3 separate regions of the Homo sapiens genome follow, and all the other regions are linked to region 1. The links are contacts of gene promoters, found by promoter capture Hi-C in human tissues and cell types (Jung and others, 2019). All regions are on one chromosome and are shown on one strand. The core of a region is centred on a gene start or on the middle of the fragment in contact, and the rest is flanking DNA. Distances in the headings are between cores, read along the strand shown. Region 1 holds the start of HMGXB4 (HMG-box containing 4). Region 2 overlaps LARGE1 (LARGE xylosyl- and glucuronyltransferase 1). Region 3 overlaps LARGE1 (LARGE xylosyl- and glucuronyltransferase 1).

What was found. Contacts are between HindIII fragments. The study calls those that stand out against the background at their distance.
Region 2: a fragment that was not itself captured here is called in contact with the fragment with the promoter of HMGXB4 in region 1 in 1 of the 25 tissues and cell types used here (lymphoblastoid cells).
Region 3: a contact is called between a fragment that was not itself captured here and the fragment with the promoter of HMGXB4 in region 1, in 1 of the 25 tissues and cell types used here (dorsolateral prefrontal cortex).

The regions. Positions count from the first base shown.
Region 1 is chr22:35,255,895-35,259,618 of GRCh38, forward strand. HMGXB4 (HMG-box containing 4) reads left to right here and starts at 1,599. Exons shown (of 11, transcript NM_001003681.3): 1 at 1,599-1,663. It overlaps LOC105373017 (a long non-coding RNA gene), which reads right to left. Exons shown (of 4, transcript XR_938210.3): 1 at 2,294-3,724; 2 at 1,319-1,367. RefSeq lists an enhancer at 893-1,393 and a silencer at 1,659-2,158. The HindIII fragment of the contact is 11,453 bases long and covers 550-3,724 here.
Region 2 is chr22:33,565,499-33,569,222 of GRCh38, forward strand. The region is part of intron 5 of LARGE1 (LARGE xylosyl- and glucuronyltransferase 1); the gene reads right to left. Among named protein-coding and RNA genes, the nearest start is that of MIR4764, 130 kb to the left of the region's middle. RefSeq lists an enhancer at 462-531. The HindIII fragment of the contact is 6,389 bases long and covers 1-3,724 here.
Region 3 is chr22:33,782,196-33,785,919 of GRCh38, forward strand. The region is part of intron 1 of LARGE1 (LARGE xylosyl- and glucuronyltransferase 1); the gene reads right to left. Among named protein-coding and RNA genes, the nearest start is that of LARGE-AS1, 59 kb to the left of the region's middle. RefSeq lists an enhancer at 493-993. The HindIII fragment of the contact is 3,854 bases long and covers 1-3,495 here.

The sequences.
Region 1 (3,724 bases), core at 349-2,848:
CCTTTTGGTGAAACTCATTGCCTGTCTTTTTGGTGAGTAGGATGGGAGCTGCGGAGAAAAAGGCCATGCTACTTTTATTAAGTATTTGCAGTTACATTTTGCAAATGATTTCAGCAACTTTATCTCAGGTGTTTTAACATCTCAGCATCTCACAGTTGTAAGAAACAGAATCAATCTTCTACTCAGTGCAGAGGGGGAGAGAGCATGATATAGCAAAAAGAGCACTGAACCAGAGTCTAACAATCTGGCTTTTCATCTTTATCTGATCACTGATTAGAGTGTGGTCTCAGACAAATCACCTTGCTTTTATTGGTCTCATGACTACCTCGTCTTCAAGCACTCACCCAACTCTGCAATGGAAAATACACTAGGACAGAGGTTCTTAATTTTTTATGGGGCCTGGGCCCTAGGAAAACACACACTGCACACATGATTTTACGTTGCATGGGGTTCACAACTCTAGAAGCCAATCTACATCTCTAACTTCTCTGCTTTACAGTAACACCAGCTTCTGCTTGAGCGCTCCTCCAGTGGGAGGGAGCTCACTACTCACAAGGAAGCCCATTGTACTACTGAACTGTACTAGAAAAATAAGTTATTCTTCATATATATATATATTTTTTGAGATGGAGTCTCACTCTGTCCCCCAGGCTGGAGTGCAGTGGCGCAATCTCGGCTCACTGCAATCTCCGCCTCCCGGGTTCAAGCGATTCTCCTGCCTCAGCCTCCTAAGTAGCTGGGATTACAGGCACGCGCCACCACGCCTGGCTAATTTTTTGTATTTTTAGTAGAGACGGGGTTTCACCACATTGGTCAGGCTGGTCTCGAACTCCTGACCTCAGGTGATCCACCCACCTCAGCCTCCCAAAGTGCTGGGATTACAGGCGTGAGCCACCGCCCCTGGCGTTCTTCTTCATATCAAACCAAGTTCTATACACTGTAATTTCTACTCATTGGTCGAAGTTCTCAATGGCAAATCAGAAAAATTGTGTTCTCGCCTGTATATGACATCTCTTCCTCTCTCTCTCTGAAGACTGTTTCTAACTAAAAAATGTAGATGATTCGCCATGCAAATTATTTTACTGTACATTGTTACAAAGATAAGTTCTTCACCTCACCCCTAATATGCCAAATGTTCAAATGTAGATGCTGAAGTCCAAATAAGCACACTGCTATTAATCTGCATAGATCTAGGTGTTGCAAAGAGGAGAACTGCTGTATAACAATATCTTGAAAGAAACAGCATAGTATTTTGGGGAAAGCACTGCATTCAGAATCAGAAGACTTGGAGTAATACTCGGTCTCACATTCCAACTACCTGTGTATCCTTGGGCACGTCACTTAACTTCTCTCAGCCTGGTTCTCTTCTGCAAAATGCGACAGGAATACAGTGAGGATTAAGTGAAATAATGTTTGTAAGCTTCTAGGGCAAGGCTGGGACATAGCAAATTCTCAATAAATAAGTGCCAGCTCCCGCGCTCAGCAGGCTCCGAGTTTTATTCGATGCGCTCGGCGCTCTTGGTCGAGCGGGATTCCCCCTCCGGAGCCCGAGTCTGCGCTCTGGGCTCGACTGAGGCTCCCTGGCCGCTCGCGCTTTTCTCTCCTTCTCCAAGATGGCGGCGATCGGCGGCGTTGAGGCGGGATCCGGGCGAGCCGAGTGAAGGTAGCGGCGAGCGGAGACCCCAGGAGACCGGGCTGGGCCCCCACCCTGAGGCGGCAGCAGCCCCGCCCCGTCGCCACCCGCCGCCCTGGGCCCGCGACATCACCTCTGGGGTGCCCCAGGCCCTTCGCGGCCTAGCCCAGGGGCCGAGCCGGGGACTGGAGTAGCGGCCGCAGCCGCCCCCAGGAAGGGGCTGGAGCGGGCAGAAGGAGGAGGGCGGGCGGGAGCTGTTCAAACGGGGAAGGCGGGAAAGCTGCGGGGCCGGGAGGGGGCGTGCGGCCGCCCCGGGGGCCTGCGGACCCGGGCCGCCCCTCCCCCTGCCCGGGCCGTCTCCGCCCTCGGGGGCGCCGTGAGGCCGCCGGAGACGCGGGAACCCGGGTTCAGGTCGAGCTGTGCGGCTCGGAACCCGCGATGCGGGGGTCCCTCGGGCTGTCAGGGGGAAAGGGCTCGTGGCCGCGGCCACGGGAGGGCTGGGGCTGCGGCTGGCAGGAGAAAGTACGAGGAGCTTTCTTCTTTTCCTCTTCACAGAGCTTTGTTGAGCTAGCTGTTGCCGCAAAACTGCCGGGAGAATCCCACTGGTTTGCCTTGGGGACCACAAAAATGGTGGTCCTGGGGGCTGTTTGTGTAAATCACCTGGTATTTTGTGTGTTTCTTGCGTGCAACCCGGCTTGGCCGTGCCTTCGTGGTGGGCGCCTTCTCCATGCAGGCCCATTTTCCCTCCACCAACTACTACTTGTAGATTCACTTTATAGCGTGCAAAAGCGGAGAAACATCTCTGTCCCCTCTTTTGGAGGGCTAAGCTGGTGGCTGATTATATTTCCTCCTAATAGAACAAAGTAAAAAACTGAATCCCAAATAAAGCCTGTTGATTGGACAAGGCTTCTCAAAATTCGATTGCTGGTCTTATGGAATGTGTGTTGTCAGCCAATCTGTGCGGTGGTCGTGGTTCCGCTTAATTGCACTGCAATGAGAGGATTCAATCCCCATCCCCGACTGTCGGGATCTCTGCAGCTTCCAGAGCTGGCAGGGGCTGGGAGTGCTGCCTAGGTAGGTCCCTGGAGAAGGGAGTGGCAAGAGGATTCGGAGTCACCGTGTTCGGAGATTGGAAGAAACCTGGACGAAGTTGAGAAGGCATCACTTGTCTGTATCGTAGAAGTAACAAGAAAATTTCAGAAATTGGCAACCGGCGGATGTGCATCTTCCTTTACCTGCACTGACTGGCATTTTGAGTTCTTGAAAGGAGTGGTTGGAAGAAGAGAATGCAGAATCTTGGACATGGCTCTCATCCTGGAACAGACCTGGAGTTCAGAATTTCTCTTACTGTCCGTGTGACGGGGCTTACTTTGTTTCCTTTTTTTCGATACTCATTTACATTATGGGGTGAAGAAGGTTGTTGATTGCAGGAGCTCAAGTTACCTCAAAAAAAGTCTGAAACCTGTTTTTTAACTGTAATTTGAAGTTTCAAAATGACAAAGTGCTATATCTGAGGACTTTTTCCTCCTGATTACTTTGGTCATCCCAAAGGCCTATGCCTGAACATAACTTGTATGCTTATCTACCAGGGAAAGAGCAACTCTGCCCCCTCCTTTTTCATATCCTGAAGAAAAGTCCCCGAAGAGCTATTTAACAATTTGTGCATTTCATAAGTATACATTTTTATGGTACCAGTTTTTTACTTGTATCAACAGTATGAAATAGTGAACTTTTACTTATGTTGTCATATCTTAGCACACTGAGACAAACAAAATTATTCTTGCCTCTTGGAGTTGACAACATTGAATTTTATAAACTCCCAAATTATTGAATTGAGACTGGGTTTTAACACCTGTTTCACATTTGCCAACATTTAATGTAATTATGACCTCCCTTTTCTAATGTGAAAATCAAACCTAATATTCATTTTCATTAATCCTCACAATCTACTCTCTACCCCTGAACTCTGAATTTTCACAGATTGTATTCAAGACCTGGAAGGAATATCAGGGGTTCATCTGATCTTATATAAATGTTGCCTGAACTCTGCCTTTCTTTCACACTGTTGCTTGAGATTTATCTGGTATCTTT
Region 2 (3,724 bases), core at 750-3,249, 1.7 Mb before region 1:
TATTCTTTTAAAACTGTAATTGAATAGATTACTACTGCTGCCTTCTCTTTATTCTCAGATAAATAAGAGGACCTAGTCATCACGCGACACTCTTCACCTGACAGCAATAGAGGACACACACATAGGACAGAAGGAGGACCTAGTCATCACGTGACACTCTTCACCTCCTAGTCAAGGAGGACCTAGTCATCACGCGACACTCTTCACCTGACAGCAATAGAGGACACACACATAGGACAGAAATGAACCACCCATGGAGCACTGACATTATGATCCTCACATAACATAATGGAACAATCAATGGCTTGCAGGTGGGCAGAGTCATCAGCGAGGTACACACACGGGTGCCATTTTGTGTCCAAAGGCAAGGATAAAAATAAAAGCACCAGTGTGATGAAAGCTCTCATCTATGCACAGTCATTTATGAAGATCACTGTGGGCAGAGGCCCCAACCTAGCTGCCATGGGGAGTTTCCATGGGAGCCAAAGCACACTTATTTTCAAGAGGGTAACACTTTTAATAGAACCCTTTAAAACAGGGAACATGGCCACCTTCTCAGGATTCCAAAAAATATTGATCTCCTTTGACCTTACAAATACCATGTTGAGGAGATGTTCTTAAAAAAATTCAAATTTAAAAATTTTGTTTTAGACACCAAAGTTTTATTCCCAAAGATGTTCATCACCATGTTACCAAAGAACAGCCATCAAAATGCCCCAAAATGGAACAATTAATTCAAACATGATACTCTTGTTTTTCTGATAGCATACTATGTAATTGTTTAAAACAATGTGGATCAAGATATAATTTCTAAAAACCTGCATATGATGTTAAAGGGGAAAAAAGCAAGCTTTAAAACTGCTTTTACTTAAAAACAACTACGTGTAATCAAACCAAATGAAACACATTCACCCAAATCTATGCAAAGGAAGAAAAAAATAGCAGCAAGACATCAAACTGTGTGCGGAGCTGGCTCCTTCCGGGGGGTTCTTGGTCTCGCTGACTTCAAGAGTGAAGCTGTGGACCTTTGTGGTGAGTATCACAGCTCTTAAAGGTGGCGCAGACCCAAAGAGTGAGCAGCAGCAAGATTTACTGTGAAGAGCGAAAGAACAAAGCTTCCACAGCTTGGAAGGGAAGCCGAGAGGGATGCCGCTGCTGGCTGGGGTGGCCAGCTTTTATTCCCTTATTTCTCCCTGCCCACATCCTGCTGATTGGTCCATTTTACAGAGCACTGATTGGTCATTTTACAGAGTGCTGATTGGTCCATTTTATAAAGTGCTGATTGGTGTGTGTTTACAATCCTTTAGCTAGACACAGAGCACTGATGGTACATTTTTACAGAGTGCTAACTGATGCATTTACAATCCTTTCGCTAGACATAAAAGTTCTCCAAGTCCCCATTTGACCCAGGAAGTCCAGCTGGCTTCACCTCTCATCAATTTCAAAAAAAGCATCCCCAACTCTGTGTATGAGTCCCTGTCACCCTACACCCAGGCATCATGGAGGTGGGGAAAAAGGACAGAAGTTCAAATCTGGGCTCTAGCCCCACACAAAGCATTTGATCTCTCTAAGCCTTGGTTTCTTTACCTGTAAAATGGAGTGTGTTTCAGAGATGGAATGGGTCTCATGAGTCAGCATGGGGAACCTGTCTCATAGCTGCCCTAAATTGGCCTCCTGTGTGCCACCATCACTAGACTATGATGTTAGAAAAAAATGTGGTTACTTAGTTTTTTTTTAAGAGTAGTTGCTCATTTTTAAAAGTTGGTAAAATGGAGACGATGCCTACTTCACACAGTGGTATAAAAATTAAATTATATTAAAGGACTCAAGGGCGTGGTACACAAAATATACTCAGTAATAAGCTCCCGCCCTTCTTCCTGATCCCTCTATCTTATTCCATGTATTTAGCTATCAGTGCCTCTTTTGGTGCTTCCAGATGAAGGTAAGGGTCTGTGGGATGTATGCAGGAGAGCAAAACACCCTGGGTGGTAGATTCAGGCATGCCTGGATTTAGATTCTAGTATCATCACTTAATCGCCATGTCACCTTGGACAGGTTTGCTCAGCTTTTCTGAGTTTCTGCTATTTATAAAGGTCATGATTTCTTTTTTAAAAAATTTTTAATTTTAGATTCTGGGGGTACACACGCATTTTTGTTACATGGGTACACTGTGTAATGGTGGAGACTGGACTTCCAGTATACCTGTCACCTGAATGTTGAACACTGTATCCAGCAGGCAATTTCTCACCCCTCACACAGCTCTCACCCTCCCCTCTTTTGGAGACCCCAGTGTCTATTATTTCCAGCTTTGTATCCAGGTATGCCCGTTGTTTAGCTTCCATCTGTAAGTGAGAACATGTGATATTTGATTTTCTGCTTCTGAGTTAGTTCACTTAGGATAATGGCCTCCAGCTCCATCCATGTTGCTACACTTACTTCATCCTATCAGGCAGTGTGTGGGTGGAAACAGCACACTCTCCTGGGGAATCTAAGGAAGATTTAATAAAAGGACTATTTAATCTAAGTATATGCAGAATTAGGGGCAGTAACAAGAACCGTGCAGTTACTTGAGGAGGGGAAGAGTACTTGGGGCCATTACCACCCCAAGGCCAAAAGGGCCCAGGCCAGCAGATGCTGGAATCCAGAGAGAATTGCTGTTTGAGTAAGGCCACCTGGCTGAGGCAGTGACCTTCAGCAGAGGGACACAGCCTACCTGTGGCAACGCATAAGCCAGAACAGGAAAAAACATCTCAACCTCACTTCCCTCCTGCCCACCAGTCTCCCGGGAGGGCAGCCCTCCAGTCAACCCTAACGGAAACCAGAGCGAAAGCGAGACTAGAGATGCTTTATGCATCAGCCTCATGGAGCATAAAGTGAGGGTTACGGCAAGAGAGGACCTAGAAGGAAAAACCTCACACAACCGAGTCATACAGTTAACACAAGGGCAAATTAAATGAACAACAACAAAATCAAAGCACAATGCCCTGGCTGGGCGCAGTGGCTCACGCCTGTAATCCCAGAACTTTAGGAGGCTGAGGTGGGCGGATCCCCTGAGGTTGGGAGTTCGAGACCAGCCTGAACAACAGGGAGAAATGCCATCTCTACTAAAAATACAAAATTAGCCGGGTGTGGTGGTGCATGTCTGTAATCCCAGCTACTCGGGAGGCTGAGGCAGGAGAATCACTTGAACCTAGGAAGCGGAAGTTGCGGTGAGCAGAGATCGCACCATTGCACTCCAGCCTGGGCAACAAAAGCGAAACTCAGTCTCAAAAAAAAAAAAAAAAAAATAAGCACAATGCCTTGTATATAATAGGTACAAAACACATATCTGGAACAGATGGATGGATGGATGGATGAATGCATGGATGGATGGATGGATGGATGGATGATGGATGGCAGGCAGGCATAGGAAGGCGGGCGATTTGTCTACAATCCCACAGCCAGCAAGATGCAAAGCTCTAAGAGTCAGAATTTGCCAGGAGAAGGTTTGTGTTCTTTCCCCAAACTACATTATCCTTCCTTTAGAGTGAGCCATCACCGTTAAGATCCGAGGACTCAGTGAGGAATTCCCTCCCATGTGCTTTATAAACATCTTCCTCATGAAAGCCCTGGCCTTTGGAGCTCAGCTCAGCTTCCTCTCTCCTCTAGCAATCTGCCTGAACTGAGGCTTGGCAATCATTAGTCCATGCTGCAGAGCTGTGCTATTTAATCAGACCTTTGATTA
Region 3 (3,724 bases), core at 319-2,818, 1.5 Mb before region 1:
AATGTTTAAAGCACTAAAATATGGCAAGGTTCATGACTGAGACGCATTTAAGACGGGAGGGAGAGTAGCCCCTATCCTTTATGTCTCTCCCAGTCCAAATCCACAGAGACAGAACATGGTTATCAGGAGCTAGAATAAGAGGAGAGTGGCAGTGACTGATAATGCATATGGGGTTTCTTTTGGGAGTGAGGAAAATGTTCTGGAATTCGTTGTGACAATCACACAACCTTGTGAAAATACTAAAAACCACTAAATTGTACATTATATGAATTGTACATTTTAAACACACATTTAAATGTGTTGTTGTTTTACATCAGTGACACGAGAACAATGAAGAGTCAGGGCTTCATCACATAGATTAGCTACTACCAAAATAAAGAATCAAATTGGGCTGGGCGCGGTGGCTCATGCATGCAATCCCAGCACTTTGGGAGGCCGAGGCGGGCGCATCACGAGGTCAGGAGATCAAGACCATCCTGGCCAACATGGTGAAACCCCGTCTCTACTAAAAATACAAAAATTAGCTGGGCGTGGTGGTGCGTGCCTGTAATCCCAGCTACTCGGGAGGCTGAGGCAGAAGAATCACTTGAACCCGGGAGGTGGAGGTTGCAGTGAGCCAACATCACGCCACTGCACTCCAGCCTGGCAACAGAGTGAGACTCTGTCTCCAAAAAAACAAAATCAAGTTTAAAAAAAAAAAAAAAGAGAGAGAGAGAGGGAGTGTTCCACTTCCACTCATCACACCCTTATTTTTCCTGAGAAATTTCCAGACCGTAGCGTGTCAGGCCATACACTACAGTGCTTCGGCCTGATTTAATTGGCATTGTAATGCTGTGACACAAATGCTATGGTACTCAATTTACAGACGAAAAGACTAAGTATCCAAAAGGTCAGGAGATTCCCTCAAGATCATATAAAGGGCCAAAAGCTTGTTTTCTAGGTCTCCTATCACAGCACTTAGCAAAACACGTTAATCCACTGGATCTGTTTCTCTCTCATCAGAGTGATGAGAGTCTCTTTGAGCACTATGTTTCTTCAGAAAAAAAAAAAATTTGCAAGAGCAGTTTGAGATTATAGCCAAATCATGGGAAAAGGGACTAGAAGGCTGAGATATTTAAAAATTTGTTTGGGAGGCTGAGGCGGTGGATCACCTGAGGTCAGGAGTTCGAGAACAGCCTGGCCAACATGGCAAAACCCCATCTCTACTAAAAATGCAAAAATTAGCTGGGCATGGTGGCGGGTGCCTGTAATCCCAGCTACTTGGGAGGCTGTGGCAGGAGAATCGCTTGAACCTGGGAGGCGGAGGTTGCAGTGAGCTGAGATCATGCCATTTCACTCCAGCCTGGGCAACAGAGCGAAACTCCATCTCAAAAAACACAAATTTGTATGGAGAGTTATCATGAAAGGAAGAAGAGGTGTCTACTAAAAGTACTCTCCAGACAGAAGAGCAGTGTTTTGTTGTTATTGTTGTTGTTGTTGATTTAATCAAACAAGTATCCATTGTGGCCTACTACATATGAGAAATTGCTTGCAACCCAGCCAAGGATATGGTCGCAGGATAAGAGAATGGCAGTGCTGGTGCCACTGCATGATTCTGACAATCACTGCTGCAGAACGGGCTCTAACTTCCCTGGTGGTTATTGACCACCAGGCTCTACTGGAAGTAGTGGAAGTAGTGGGCGGTAGAGGGAGATTAGAGTGGTCTTTCCTCAATGGGCTCTAAAAAGGACCTATGTGTTTAAAAGGAGCTTCCAAGTTGGTAAGGCCAATCAGTTCCAAATCACTAAGACAATCTCTCTCTTTCTTTTTTCTTTTTCCCCTTTTAGTGCATGGCAGATCCAAGATTACCTCCAATCCATCCTTCAGAGACCTCCTCTTTGGTAAAACCAACTCAGACTCCTCTGAGCTCTCACTAGACTCTGCTTAATTAGAATGGCTTTTCGTTTCGTTTTGTTTAACAACTGCAACAATTGCTTTCTGCTAATGAATAAACCAATAACATTACGACTTGCAGTAGTATTTTCTATCATATACTGAGCAGTATCTTTCTGCAATGCCAAGCTCTACATACATGAGTGCTTCACATACGTTGTCTTACTAAAATCCAACCCTGTAAATTAGTTAATACTATCCCCAATGTATAGAAGAGGAAATAAAGCAATTTGCTCGAAGTCACAAGCCAGTAAATGATGGAACAAAAATATAAACCCAGCAATCTGACTCCAGAATGTCTATTTGTCACCATATGGCCTGTGTATAGCGTGGGAGCTCCTGGAAGTTAACTAAAGAACTACTAACTTCTCGCTTAAATTTGAGGGAACAAAAATGGAAGGTAAGGATTTCTAGTGCCCTAATTCACTTTTTAAACCAGTTCAGAGTTTAGGTGCTCCGGTGCAAGATCAATAATGTATTGAAAAGTTAGAATAAAAGTGGCATTCTACCCTCAAAGAAGTCTGTTCTGCTTTCAGGAGACAGTCACAGGTACTAATATGCACAAAATGAATCTTTATTTTATTTATATACACACATACAGAGTTTATATTTGTACATAAACAATATATATACCATATATTCATACAGTATGTATACCATATAGTATACATACACACATACACATATGTATATACACATATATGTATAATATACACACATAGACAGTTTATATTTGTACGTATTTATACTATATTTGTACAGTATATATACTGTATATTATATGTGTGTGTATATACATATATGTATATACACGTGTATACATGTGTACATGGGTATATACATGTGTATACATACATATGTGTACGTGTATATACATATATGTGTATACATACATATGTGTATATACATATATGTGTATACATACATGTGTATATAGATATATGTGTATACATACATATGTGTATATACATGTGTATACATACATATGTGTATATGCATATATGTGTATACATACATATGTGTATATACATATATGTGTATACATACATATGTGTATATACATATATGTGTATACATACATATGTGTATATACATATATGTGTATACATACATATGTGTATATATGCATGTGTATATGTGCATATGTGTATATATACGTATATATGTGTATATATATACACACACACCCCACTTAAATTAGCCATCCATTTTATGAATTAGAAAACTGAAGTATTCAGATGTTACACAACTCATAAAGTCACTCGATGAGTAACGGGTGAACAGTATCTCACCCCAGGCCTGCCTGTTTCACATCCAGCACTCTTTCTAATACCCTAACCGATTACTACCAGAGTGGCTAGTGTGAATCACCTACCCTAGGCTAACAATGCACAACATGAAAGGAATCAAGACAGGAAGAAACCCAGTGCCTGGTTTCTACAGACCTCTGACAAGTTTAAAAAAGAAACAAACAAAACTGTAAAACCCATGTGTAGTGATCACAGGGCCAACTGGAGGGGAAAAAAAACATAATTTGTTCATTTACAAATACTTTTAAGCTGCTTGTCAAACAAAATGAGTTTGTCTGCCAGATGAGATCTCAATTTTCTAAGTTCATTAGCAGCTGATGAACGGAAAGGGTCACCTGGTGATTTCATAATTTGGCCCTGAATCTTGTCAAAGCCACTTAAAAAAAAATTCCAAGCTGTCAAGAGAGAAAGGAAATGCCATTTTATCTAATTTGTGCACTATTTCTGTGCAAACAAGGGGTAGATATTTAGACATGCTGTAT